Linked DNA regions of Homo sapiens: region 1 is linked to region 2. Evidence: promoter capture Hi-C in 16 types of primary human blood cells and fetal thymus (Javierre and others, 2016). All regions are on one chromosome and are shown on one strand. The core of a region is centred on a gene start or on the middle of the fragment in contact, and the rest is flanking DNA. Distances in the headings are between cores, read along the strand shown.

Region 1 (6,325 bases), core at 894-3,393, 360 kb before region 2:
TTTCCTCCAAAGCCATGGAAATGGTACTGTGGGCAGGGAGAGGTCTCTTTAGCCACAGACACCTGGCTCCCCCTTCATCTTGAGGGCAATATTTCTCTGGTGGGTTGGAAGTGCTCATTACTCACATTGGGAATGACACTTCTGGGGTGCCCAGTGTCAGGGACTTTGGGAGGGATTGCATTCCTCTCAGTAAAGTGGCAGGGAACACAGAAGCTTATGGCAAGCGTTGGACCAAATACCAATGAAAATACCAGACAGAGTAGCTTACAAACACATTTCCAAAGAATTTCCCTTGTACTCATGGATGGAGTTCACCTACCTTTCTCTCAACACTGGACTCAGGCAATGCTGGAGAGTAATCCAATTTCATGCAATTCAATGAATACAGTGAGGCCAAGGGGGAAAAGCCCCCTCCTTCCCCTGAGAAGGCTCGCAGACCTCCAGGCAAGCAAAGTGCTATGATGGGCTGTGCCGTGCGGCACAGTGGAGGGCAGAAGAAACTCACGGCATCAGCAGGGCTGGCAGGGCAGGCACTCACAGTGAGGCAGGAAGGTGAGCTCGTTGTCAGGCACAGGAGACACAAGCAGGAGGTGAAGGAGGATCAATGGGGAGACAAGCCATGAGCCGCACTCCCTGGAGAGCCAAAGGGCTAGCAGGCAGAGGAAGAGGGTGGCAGGAGGGTGTGGCTGAAGTCAAGCAGGAGAGCAGCTTTGGGGAATGGAGACCAGGATGGGCTTCCTGGAAGAGAAGTAAGGGAAGTGAGGGAGCCAGTCTGCTGCCCACCAGACCAGAGTTCACTGGGCGGGAGGGAGCTGGGAATAAAGACACAGGACCCAGCAGTCCCTCTTCCTCCTCCTGCCCTCCCACTGCCACCCACACAAAATCAGCCATGGGACACTCAGGAAAAGGAGAGTCCTCAAAACGAAGACAACAAGAGACAGAGAAAAGGCAGCAGATATTTAGATGTGTATCTAAATATCAGGGGCAATAGACACATATCCCCCATTCTGACCTCACATTTACAAATTTAATTCCATATAGATTGTAAGTCTCACCATGAAAGGTGAAATAATAAAACTTTAAGAAAATATGGGAAAAGAAAAAAAAGCACTAAAACCACAAAAGGAAAAAAAAAGGTACATTGAGCCACATGAACATAAGAAGTATTATTCATCAAAAGACACCACTGAGAGGGAAATTCAGACCACAGAAAAGACATTCATAAGACACGCATTTGGCAAAGGACTTGGGCAAATCAACAAGAAAAATCCAATAAATCCAGACAATTCAAAGAAATGGGCAAATGACTTGGACAGGTACTATGCAGAAGAGGATAGCCGCGTGGCTAGTAAACAGATGAAAAAATGGTTGATATCTCCCACAGGGCAATGCAACACCCTGCACACGTGAGAACTACTGACGTGACAAAGGCAGTACCCAGCGTGGAAGGGAGTGCAACATGAGCTCTCATCTCTATTGAGAAAGCGTTCACTCATCCATTCCAGAACAGGGTTTGCAGGATCTACTGATGCTGAGAACACATCTCCCTATGGCCCAGAAACCCTGTTCCTAGGCATTCACACAACAGCAACGAGTATGTGTGTGCATCCAAAGACAAATCCACACATCATCACAACAGCAAGATTCATAGTTGCCAAAATCTAGAAACAACCCAATGCCCACCTACAGTAGAATGGATCCCTAATTGCGGTGTGTTCACACAGTCAAAGCTATACCGCAACAATGAAGATGAACAAGTTTCAACTAGACACAACAAAAGGGATTTATCTCACATATAATGGTGAGCAAAAAAAGCAGGCACAAAAGCGCACACAGTGTGGCTCGGTGTATGTGTGGTTCAAAATTGTGCTGTTCAGACGTGGGAGGTGGGTCCTGTTGGAATGCGGGTTAAGGACAAGTAGGAGGCACGAGGGGCTTGCAGGATGTGGGAGAGGTGCTATTCCTTCTTCTGTATCCTGTTTGCCTGGATGTGTTTCATTTGTGACGATTCACTGAGCTGTGTACTTAGAATCTGTTCATTTCCCTTCTATCTGTTTGTAGTGGGCCGAATGGGGACCCCCTAAAACATAGGTCCACAACCTAGTTCCCAGAATCTTTTATGATGAGAATCAACCCTACCTGATATGGCAGAAGATGTGATTATGGTGAGGATCTTGAAAGGAGGAATTTATCCCGGATTACCCACGTGGGCTGGAAACCTAAAATGAGAGCCTCCTTGTAAGAGAGAGAAAAGGCCACACAGCGACACAGAGAAGACCATGTGAAGATGGAGGCAGAGCTTCAAGGGATGTGGCCACAAGCCAAGGAGCTCCCGGAGCACCCAGAGCTGGAAGAGGCAGGAAGGATCCTTCCTTGGGGCCTTCGGAGTGAGCACAGCCCCGCTGAATTCAGACTTCTGGTTTCCAGAACTATCAGGATACATTTCTAAGGCTGGGCACGGGTGGCTCATGCCTGTAATCCTAGCACTTTGGGAGGCCAAGGCGGGCAGATCACTTCAGTTCAGGAGTTTGAGAGAATAAATTTCTGTTATTTTAAGAGACCATGTCTGTGGTCATTTGTAAAAGCAGCTGCAGGAAACCGATCCACTCTTCTACTTCAATGAAATGAGGAAATTAAACAGTAAAATCGAATTCTGCCTGGGCCCCACTCTAGGCCAAGTAAGTCAGAACAGGCTGGGGAGGGCCTGAGCATTAGGCGGCTCCCATTCCCGGGTGGCGCCCAGGGTTCCCCGGGCTCAAGAGGCTTCACCAGGAAGGGAGACTCCCTGCTGCCTCGGGCCCCTGAAAAGGTCCTCAGGGACATGGGGCAGGGGGGTTGGGGGCACCAAAGTGGCCAGGACCACTCGGCCGGGTTTCCAGGCCGCACTAAGACCCTTCTGAGGTTTGCAATCATGAATCGTAAGTGAGCCTCAGCCAGATGTGTAACTGTCTCCTGCGATGTTCAGATCCTCAGGGTAGATAAATGTGTTTAATCAGAGCTGGGATGTTTCCAAGTGAATTATAAAAGAGAGGGAAGAGGGCAAGGGAATTGAGGATGCTCAAAAGAAGGAATGACATCATGAGCCACAGAATCTTAGCTGGGTAAGAAAGGAACTAAGGGTGGAGGGAAAGCTAGGGAGCAGAAATGAGGTAAGAAGAATGAATGGGGGCCAGAAAGCACCACAGTGGGGGCTCACCCAGGAGGCTGGGCAGGCGGAGGCAGTCAGAGAGGGAGGCAGAGGCTGGGGGAAGACAGGCTGAGGTTCAGCCTCAGAAGAAGGAAGCAGAGGCTGGAGGGGGACAGGCTGAGGGTCTGGACATGGAAGAAGGAGGCAGAGACTAGGGAGACAGGCTGAGGTTCAGCCTTGGGAGAGGGAGGCAGAGGCTGGAGGGGGACAGGCTGAGGGTCCAGACATAGAAGCAGGAAGCAGAGGCTGGAGGGAGACAGGCTGGGGGTCCAGCCTCGGGAGAAGGAGGCAGAGGCTGGAGGGAGACAGGCTGAGGTTCAAACACGGAAGAAGGAGGCAGAGGCTGGGGAGAGACAGGCTGGGGGTCCAGCCATGGGAGAAGGAGGCAGAGGCTAGGGAGAGACAGGCTGGGGTCCAGCCATGGGAGAAGGAGGCAGAGGCTGGGGAGAGACAGGCTGGGGGTCCAGCCACAGGAGAAGGAGGCCACAGCGTGCCAGGAAGGTGGTTAGAGCTGTGAGGAGGTCCCACAACAGAGACCAGGCATTCAGCAGATTATCCTCAAGGAGACCAATGACCTAAAAATGGTGCCAGGAAGGAAAATGAAAGGAACACCATGACCAGGGTCCGGAGGCTCAGGGAATGAGGGAGTGGTCCTGTAGGTCAGGGATAAGAGCTATGGGACATGGGCTTAGATGGGCTTTGTGTCTGGCAGAGGGTGAAAGAGAGCATGTGGACAAGGCCACAGGGAGGGGAGCAGGGAGGGCACGCCTCAGTGGCAAGAGAGGGAACAGCCTCCCTTTGAGAACTCAGAGGATGGCCGACTTGTGTGAAGGGGACACTCAGAGAAGAGGTGAGGATGCTGCAATGCTTTCTACACCCAGGTCTGCAAAGCTTACTGAAAAGTAATACATCACTGCTCTTTAGCTGTAGGAATTCTACTATCTTGGTATACTTATGAAATAGCCAAAGAAAGGCAGCTTTCCAATCCTTCACCCCTGAAAGTTCACAAACTCAGTCTACGTGACATCACTGCGTCTTCAAAGCAGGTCCTCCCAGAGCTCACCCTTCTAAATGCAGAAACTGGCCAAGTGGAGCTAGGAGTCTGTGTCATTTCCTAGGACATTCCCAGGGTCCCTATTGTGTGACAGCTACTAGGAAGGCACACGAGGCACCAAGTTCCTCCGCAGGAGACCCCTCTCCCCTGGCGGTTCTCTGCTGGCACTGAGCCACTGTGTGCAGCCGTGATGCCCAGGCAGGCCCTCACCCCAGGTACCTCTGGGGCCTCCTGGGTGCTGCAGCTTCTTGCTGGGCTGTTCATGGAACAGGTTGCCCTTGGTGCCTACATGTCCCGCCCTCAGCACCAGCTCCTGTGAGGGCAGGGACCCCAATGCCCTCGACCTAAGGCTCTCCCTTCTTTCCTGTCTGCCCCATGGCCATCCTGGAAGGCATCACCAACAGAAAGCCATTCCAGAAAGCGTCCTCTCTGCCCAGATGGACGCAGCTGCCCTGTGTGAGCTCCAGGCTACCATCTAATGACATCTTATCTTCTTCCTGAAACCAAGATACCCCTGGCTGGTGGAAAGTGAATGGCCTTGGAGTCGAAAGAGACTCTTTCGGGCAACCTGTTGTGTTCGTTTCTTGTTGCTGTTGTAACAAGTCATCACAATCTTAGCAGCTTAAAACAACACTAGTTTATCATCTTGGGATTCTGTAGGTTAGGAGTTCCAAAGCCGGTCTCACTGAGCTAACCTGAAGGTGTCAGCAGGGCTGGTTCCTCCTGGAGGCAAGGGGTTGGCCGGGGCGGGGTGGGGGTGGGACTTCTGCTCCATTGCCTTTCCAGCTTCTAGAGGCCACCCACATTCCTTGGTCCTCTTAAGCCAACAGCCTTGTGTTTCTCTGACCATGCCTCTGTGCCCAGGCTCCCCCTGACTCTCCTCTTCCACCTTCCTCTCCCACTTCTAAGGACCCCTGTGATTACATGGGGCTACCCAGATAATCCAGGGGCATCTCCCTCTTTTAAAGTCAGCTGATTAGCAACCTTAATTTCATCTGATTCTCCTGCACCACATAACCTAACGAATCCAAAGGTCCAGGGGATTAGGAGGTGGACCTCTTTGGAGGGCCATTATTCTGCCTACCACACCTCAAATGCAAGCCGTCTTCTTTTCCAGGCTTCTATTATTTCACTTGGTTCCTGACATGGTAAGGGAAAAAGGGGTTTCCCTGGCAGCACATGCTGCTAAAGCGGTTGAGGGTCCCTCCTCCACAACTGCGTGGCTTTGTACACAAGCAGTTCCAGCAAGCAGGGAGAGCTCCAGAAACACAGTTGCCAAAGAGACTGAAGTTCTAAAATTCACGGTAGGAGACTAACATGCTCCTGCAGGACAGCAGTACAGGCATTTCTGCAAACACATCTTTTTTTCTGTTTTCCCATGCTTCGATCCAGAGTCTCTAGATTAAAGCGTTTTCACCATGGTACCCAAGGAAGCACAGATAAAGGCTCCCCAGATATATGTGTGCATGTGCTTATGTGTATGCACACGTGTGTTTGTGTAAGGGAGAGAAGTTTCAGCAGCCACTTGTGATGACAAAGTATAGGCATGCACCAAATAACGACGTTGTGGTCAGTAGGCACCAAGTATATGACGCTGGCTCCATAAGGTTACAACGGAGCTGAAAAACTCCCACTGCCCAGTGATGTTGTCGCCATAGGAACACGGCACACTGCGTTAGTGATGCTGTAGTCATAGGAACACGGCACACCGCGTTGCTCACATTTGTGGGGAGGCTGGTGTCAACAAACCTGCTGCACTGCCAGTCGTAGAAAAGTGTAGCACATACCGATTATCTACAGTACATCATACCTGATAATAATAATAAATGCATATATTACTGGTTTAAGCATTTACTATACTTTTATCATTATTTTAGGGTATCCTCCTATCTATGGTGTACTCCTATTTATTTTTTTTTTAAAGGTAACTGTAAAACAGCCTCGGACAGGTCCTTCAGGAGGTATTCAGAGGCACTGTTGTCATGGGAGATGACAGCTCCATGCGTGTCACTGCCCCTGAAGACATCCCAGGGGGGCAAGATGTGGAGGTGGGAGACAGTAATATTGATGATCCTGACTCTGTG
Region 2 (5,615 bases), core at 1,274-3,773:
TTTAAGCCACCCAGTTTGTGACATTTTGTTACTCAGCTCCAGGAAACTAAGGGAGAAAAAGCAAATGGGGAAGGGAAACGGGATGCTGAGGGTTATGTTTGCAGTTTAGACTAAAGAGCCACTTGGACGTCCTCACTAAGATGGGGAGGAGGGAACGCATGTCAGGCAGATGGAACAGCAAGTGCAAAGGCCCTGAGGCAGGAGTGTGCCAGGGGTGCTTCTGGCTGGTATTGTTTGGGCTAGGGAAAGCGCTGGGAGGTGAGGGCAGGGGAAGAGGGGAAGGACCAGGGGATAAGGGACTTGCAGGTCATAGCAAGGTTGTTCCATTTTGCTGAATGAGAAAGCCACTGGAGGGTTTTGAGCAGAGGAGTGGCATGGACTGAATTTTTTAAAATGTCAACTTTAAATTCTGGGATACACGTGCAAGACGTGCAGGTTTGTTACATAGGTAAATGTGTGCCATGGTGGTTTGCTGCACTTGTGAACCCATCACCTAGGCATTAAGCCCTGCATGCATTAGCTATTTATCCTGATGCTCTCCCTTCCCCTAACCCCCAACAGGTCCCGGTGTGTGTTGTTCCCCTCCCTGTGTCGATGCATTCTCATTGCTCAGCTCCCCCTTATTACTGAGAACATGCGGTGTTTGGTTTTCTGTTCCTGTGTTAGTTTGCTGAGGATAGTGGCTTCCACCTCCATTCATGTCCCCACAAAGGTCATGATCTCATTCCTTTTTACGGCTGCATAGTATTCTAAGAGTGGCATGAGATGATTTTTAAAATAGTAACATCTTTTTTGTTTTTTAAAAAGGATCACACGAGCAGCTGTGCAGAATGTGGGAAACCAGCTAGAAGGCACTGCTTTAAAATGGACGGGTGGCGGGGAAAGAGGGGTGGAGGGAGGAGGAGGGGTAGCAGTTGGGTTCTGGTTGTTTCGGGCAGTGGAGCCAAGAGGATGTGTTCATTGTGGACAGAGAGAGGAGCCAGGCATGACCAAGGATTTTGGACTGAGCCATTGGAAGCAAACAGCTCCAGAATAACGGCCGTTTGACTTGTGTGTGATTTTCTGTAGTTTACTGAATGCACGTTCTAATCCTTGGTCATGATTTCCACGTGTACAATATGAAGGTATTTGAAAACGTCTGAAACATTCATTTTCATTACTAACCACCACCACTTGCCCCAAAGCCTTTGTATGCAACACACGGACCTTTCCTGTTGGGGCGATGTTTGAAGGGTCAAGTGCTTAGTAATGTCTACTCATCTGTGCTGGAGACGAGGGGGTAGCATTTACAACACGCCTGTACGAAGGCCAGGTCCCGTTCTACTTAAAAGGCTTGGAGCCCGGGCGCCACTGGGCTAAGGCAGCTTCAGGGCCCTGGCCCGGGAGTGCATTTGCGGGGACTCCGCCTGAAGACAGGGCGGCAGCCGCGGGGCCTCACGTCGCCCAGGCTCGCGGGGCACCGCGATGATCAACGACACTGGCGTTTGCTTTGGACCTCACAGGATGTGTGGTTGGCGCTGTATTCCAAACAGTGCCACTGTCAACCCGGCTTCCATCGCGCTCGGGACACCGGGATGGCAAACGGCAGGCTGTGGATGGCGGGCGGTTTCCCACTGACTCCTGCCCGCTCGGTGCAGCTGGAAAAACCGAAGCCGGGGGCCGGACGCGCCGCCCACCAGCCGTTCCTCGGCTAGCACTGCCCATTTTGCCCAGGGAATTAACTTGGAAGTTTTCACTTCACTTTTCGCATAGAAAATCATTTTAAAAAGCAAACCAAACGCCTGTAAGCAGACCCGCTAGGGAGCAGGACTCTGCCGCGTGTCCTTCCCGGCTCCGGAGCGGCGGAGCCAGCCACCCGGCACGGCACGCTGGCCGCTCACCCCGCGAGGTGCAGGGAGCACGTGGGCCGACGCGCGGACCCCAGAGAGCGCAGCGTGACCTGCTGCACGGACCCTCGGATGAGAGACCTGGGGCGGGATCTGCGACCGGGGCCCGCCCTTACGTCAGGAGGGAGGGCCGGCCGGCGGGGGAAGCGCCTGCGGTGGCGTCCGCTGCCCCCGCCCGGCTGCTCGGAAACTTCCACCGGCGGCGGTGACGGCCACGCTGCCCTGCGCACGCGCAGCGCGGCTCAGGCGGCAGCCCGGTGACACCGGCCCTAGCGCGCATGTCTGCACGCCGGGGTCTGCGCGCCGCGGCGGGCCGAGGGCGGCGTGCGGGCCTTCCAGCCGCTGCCTATTCCACCCAACGCCGGCCTAGTCAGTAATGGCTCAACGCCACCGCCTCTCCCTCCAGCCCCTCCCAGTCGCGTAGCTTCTGACGCCGTCCTCACCCCGCCCGCGGCCGACGGGGCCCCAACGCGCAGGCGCGGTAACCACGGCGGCAGTGTCTAGTGAGGATTTGAAATCGGTCGCGCGTGCGCACCGGCGACACGGCCCGGCGACCGAGGCCGCGCTTCCTCCTGCCGCCCCCGTCCCCGCCCCCTCCCCCGCCCCTCATTGGAGCGGACGCGGCGGCGGCCCCCTCCTTCCCCCGCGCTGTCGCCGCCGAGAGTGTCTTTTCACCGCCGCCGCCGCCGCCGCCGCAGGAGCGCCGAGCCAGCGGCGCGAGCGTGACTGAGGGCTAGCCGCACGGGCGGCGGCGCCTCCCGCGGGTCCTTCAGCCGCTCGGCGCCTGGGCCCGCCCCCTCGGCCCCGCCGCCCGCCCTTCTCCGATGGCCTCTCCCCGCGGCCCGAGTGGAACGCCGCCGCCGCCGCGGCCCCCGCGCCCGCCCCGCGCCGCGTGAAGCGGGAGCCCGGAGACCGCAGCCGCCCGCTGGGACGCGCCAAGCGCCGGAGCCGCCCGCCGCGGCCTGCCGGGGCCCATCACCGCCGCCGCCGCCCCACGCCGGAGCCCGACGGGAGCGCGGCTAGAGCAGGAGGCCGGGGCTCGGCCCGCCCGCCGCCGCCGCCGCCGCCGCCGCCACCGGCCCAGGCCCGTCCGTCCGTCCGTGCGCGCGCGGCCGGGCCTCGGGGCGCGGCGGGGGCGGGGCCGCGTCGGGGCGGGCGGGCGCGCGGGCCCCGCGGGGGCGGCGCGTGGATGGATCCGCGCGTGGCCTGGATCCAGCCCGAGCAGAAGGGGCCGGCCAATGCCCTGTGGATGCAGATCTGGGAGACCTCGCAGGGCGTGGGCCGCGGCGGCTCGGGCTTCGCGTCCTATTTCTGCCTCAACTCGCCGGCGCTGGACACGGCGGCCGCGGCGGGGGCGGCCGGGCGGGGCAGTGGCGGCCTGGGCCCCGCGCTGCCCGCCGCGTCGCCCCCGCCGCCCGGCCCCACCGCGCCCGCCGCGCTGCCCCCCGCGCTGCTGACGGCGCTGGGGCCCGCGGCCGAGGGCGCGCGGCGCTTGCACAAGTCGCCGTCGCTGTCGTCCTCGTCGTCGTCCTCCTCGTCCAACGCGGAGTCGGGCACCGAGAGCCCCGGCTGCTCGTCGTCGTCCTCCAGCAGCGCCTCGCTGGGCCGGCCGGGCGGCGGCCGCGGCGGCGCCTTCTTCAACTTCGCCGACGGCGCGCCCAGCGCCCCTGGCACAGCCAACGGGCACCCCGGGCCGCGCGGCCCCGCGCCCGCCGGCTCCCCGTCGCAGCACCAGTTCCACCCGGGTCGCCGGAAACGCGAGAACAAGGCCAGCACCTACGGCCTCAACTACCTGCTGTCCGGCAGCCGCGCGGCCGCTCTCAGCGGAGGGGGCGGCCCCGGGGCCCAGGCGCCGCGGCCCGGCACCCCGTGGAAGAGCCGCGCGTACAGCCCGGGCATCCAGGGGTGAGTGCGCGGGGAGGCCGCGGGGGCGGGGGCGGGGCCCATGGTCCTGGCCGGCGCCCGCGGTGCAGACACCCGTCCCAGGCGCCCGGGCTTTTGGAGGATGGATGTTGAAGGCTAAGGCCAAGGCCCGACTCTGCACTGAAAGTTTTTTTTTTAAACATCAGACTCATTTATCGTGGAGTGACTTGCCCAGATCCTACAAGTAACAGTCCAAGAAAAGGGGCTGCTGGGTAGGACCTGCAGGTATTTGTCTTTTTTACTCTTGAGATTGGAACGGGAAATCGACTCTCTACCCCTCCACCCCGCCTCCGGGCAAGTGAGGAACCCCTTGTCAAAGTGGGGCGTAGATAAGTGTGGAGTTTCACGTAAGTTAAGTTGCAGAATAATTTAGCATTGCCAGGAACTCGAATCACGTCGAAGGTAAATATTAACCTTTTTAATTTCATTTTTTAAAAAAATTTAACTGTCAACTTAGAGGTGATTCATTTTTTGGGGGGTGTTGTGTCCTTTAATTTTGTGCTGCAATTACCATAAGCATCGCCTATGGTTTATAAACATTGGCTTAATTCAAAGAAAAAACCAGATTTGTCATATATGTCTATTCTTTGGAAGGTGCCATTTTTATTTTAAATATTTCTACATCCGCCTAGAGGGAATTAGAGGCTCTACTTAAATTTAGTGCACTTACAGACGGCAAGGAATGAAACGAAAGGTGGTGTGTGTTTCGGGGTTGGAATTGTCCCAGGTGAGGCTGTTCAGGTGTGATGCTGTTGACGCAGCCCCTTTGCCATTTTGGGCTTTTCTGAGCGTCTGGAAGCAATTTATGTGTAGGTTGTATGTCAGTATTTTAAGACTTAAATGATAATTTTTCCTTGCACAATTTTTCCCCCCAATTTAAAAAACAATTAAGGATTTGCTGGGGTATGAGGGTTGTTGCATGCAGTAGAGTCCTACAAATAACCACAATTGCTAGGTGTTGGGAGTTCTTATAGTAAACTTTTGCTTGTAACTCTTTTTCTCATTTGAAGTATGTTGGGAAACACGAGTTGATACTTCTTTAAAGCGTGTGATACACTGTAATAGCTGCATGTTCTGTAACTTATTTCACCTGGCTTGGGCTACAAGCGATACCTTCTAAATTTCCCGAAGTGTAAACATGCAGTGCAGACGCCGGCAGGAGCGCAGACTCCTCTTCTCTCCCTCCAGTTCTTACCTGTAGAACTTTCTGAGAGCAGGTGGTTGGGAGCAGTTTCTTCTTGATGAATAGCAATATATACCTAAGGGCTCGCTTGGGGAGGACCTTTAGGTTTCCAGCCTGTTATGTAACTGGAATGGACTCCGTTTCTCTTAGCACTAGAAAAAACAGGAAGACACGTGGTCTCTGCCAGTCTTGGGTTGTACCTCTGCTCTTAGAAAGTGGTAGCGCATCAGGTCCCATGCACCTCACTTGGGCTCCCCGAGCTGTTTCCTCCAGGTAACTCTAGTCAGGCTCAGTAGGTGGTGTTGCTTTTGTTAGTGAATGAGCCCACTAGGATCAGGTGCTGTGCTAGGATCTGGGGATCTGGGGCAGGGACGGCATGGGAGACACAGTCTCATGATCTTGACCCACCCTGAAACCTGCCTGCAAGTGCCCCCTGCCTAGAGCACAAGAGTACCCTGCTCAGTTGTGCAGGTCCCCTCTCACGCTCTTCGTCACCCACGTCCAGTCTCTCATCACATGCTGTTCGTTTGGCCCTTTTAATCTCTCCACACCTCATCCTCCCTCATGCAGGCTCTTGTTACTTCTGTGGAGATTGCTCAAGCAGCCGGAGGTGCCTTTGATGC

Evidence for each region. Contacts are between HindIII fragments. The CHiCAGO score rates a contact against its expected background, and 5 or more counts as called.
Region 1: a contact is called between a fragment that was not itself captured here and the fragment with the promoter of TENT4A in region 2, in 1 of 17 cell types (naive CD4 T cells). The highest score is 5.3, in naive CD4 T cells.

What each region holds. Positions count from the first base shown.
Region 1 is chr5:6,351,061-6,357,385 of GRCh38, forward strand. No RefSeq gene overlaps it. Among named protein-coding and RNA genes, the nearest start is that of LINC02145, 17 kb to the left of the region's middle. The HindIII fragment of the contact is 3,865 bases long and covers 212-4,076 here.
Region 2 is chr5:6,710,909-6,716,523 of GRCh38, forward strand. It overlaps TENT4A (terminal nucleotidyltransferase 4A), which reads left to right and starts at 2,524. Exons shown (of 13, transcript NM_006999.6): 1 at 2,524-3,791. The coding sequence starts at 3,076. RefSeq lists enhancers at 1,613-1,672, 4,890-4,939, 5,240-5,299 and silencers at 1,843-2,282, 2,393-2,762, 3,063-3,132, 3,503-3,892. The HindIII fragment of the contact is 9,360 bases long and covers 1-5,615 here.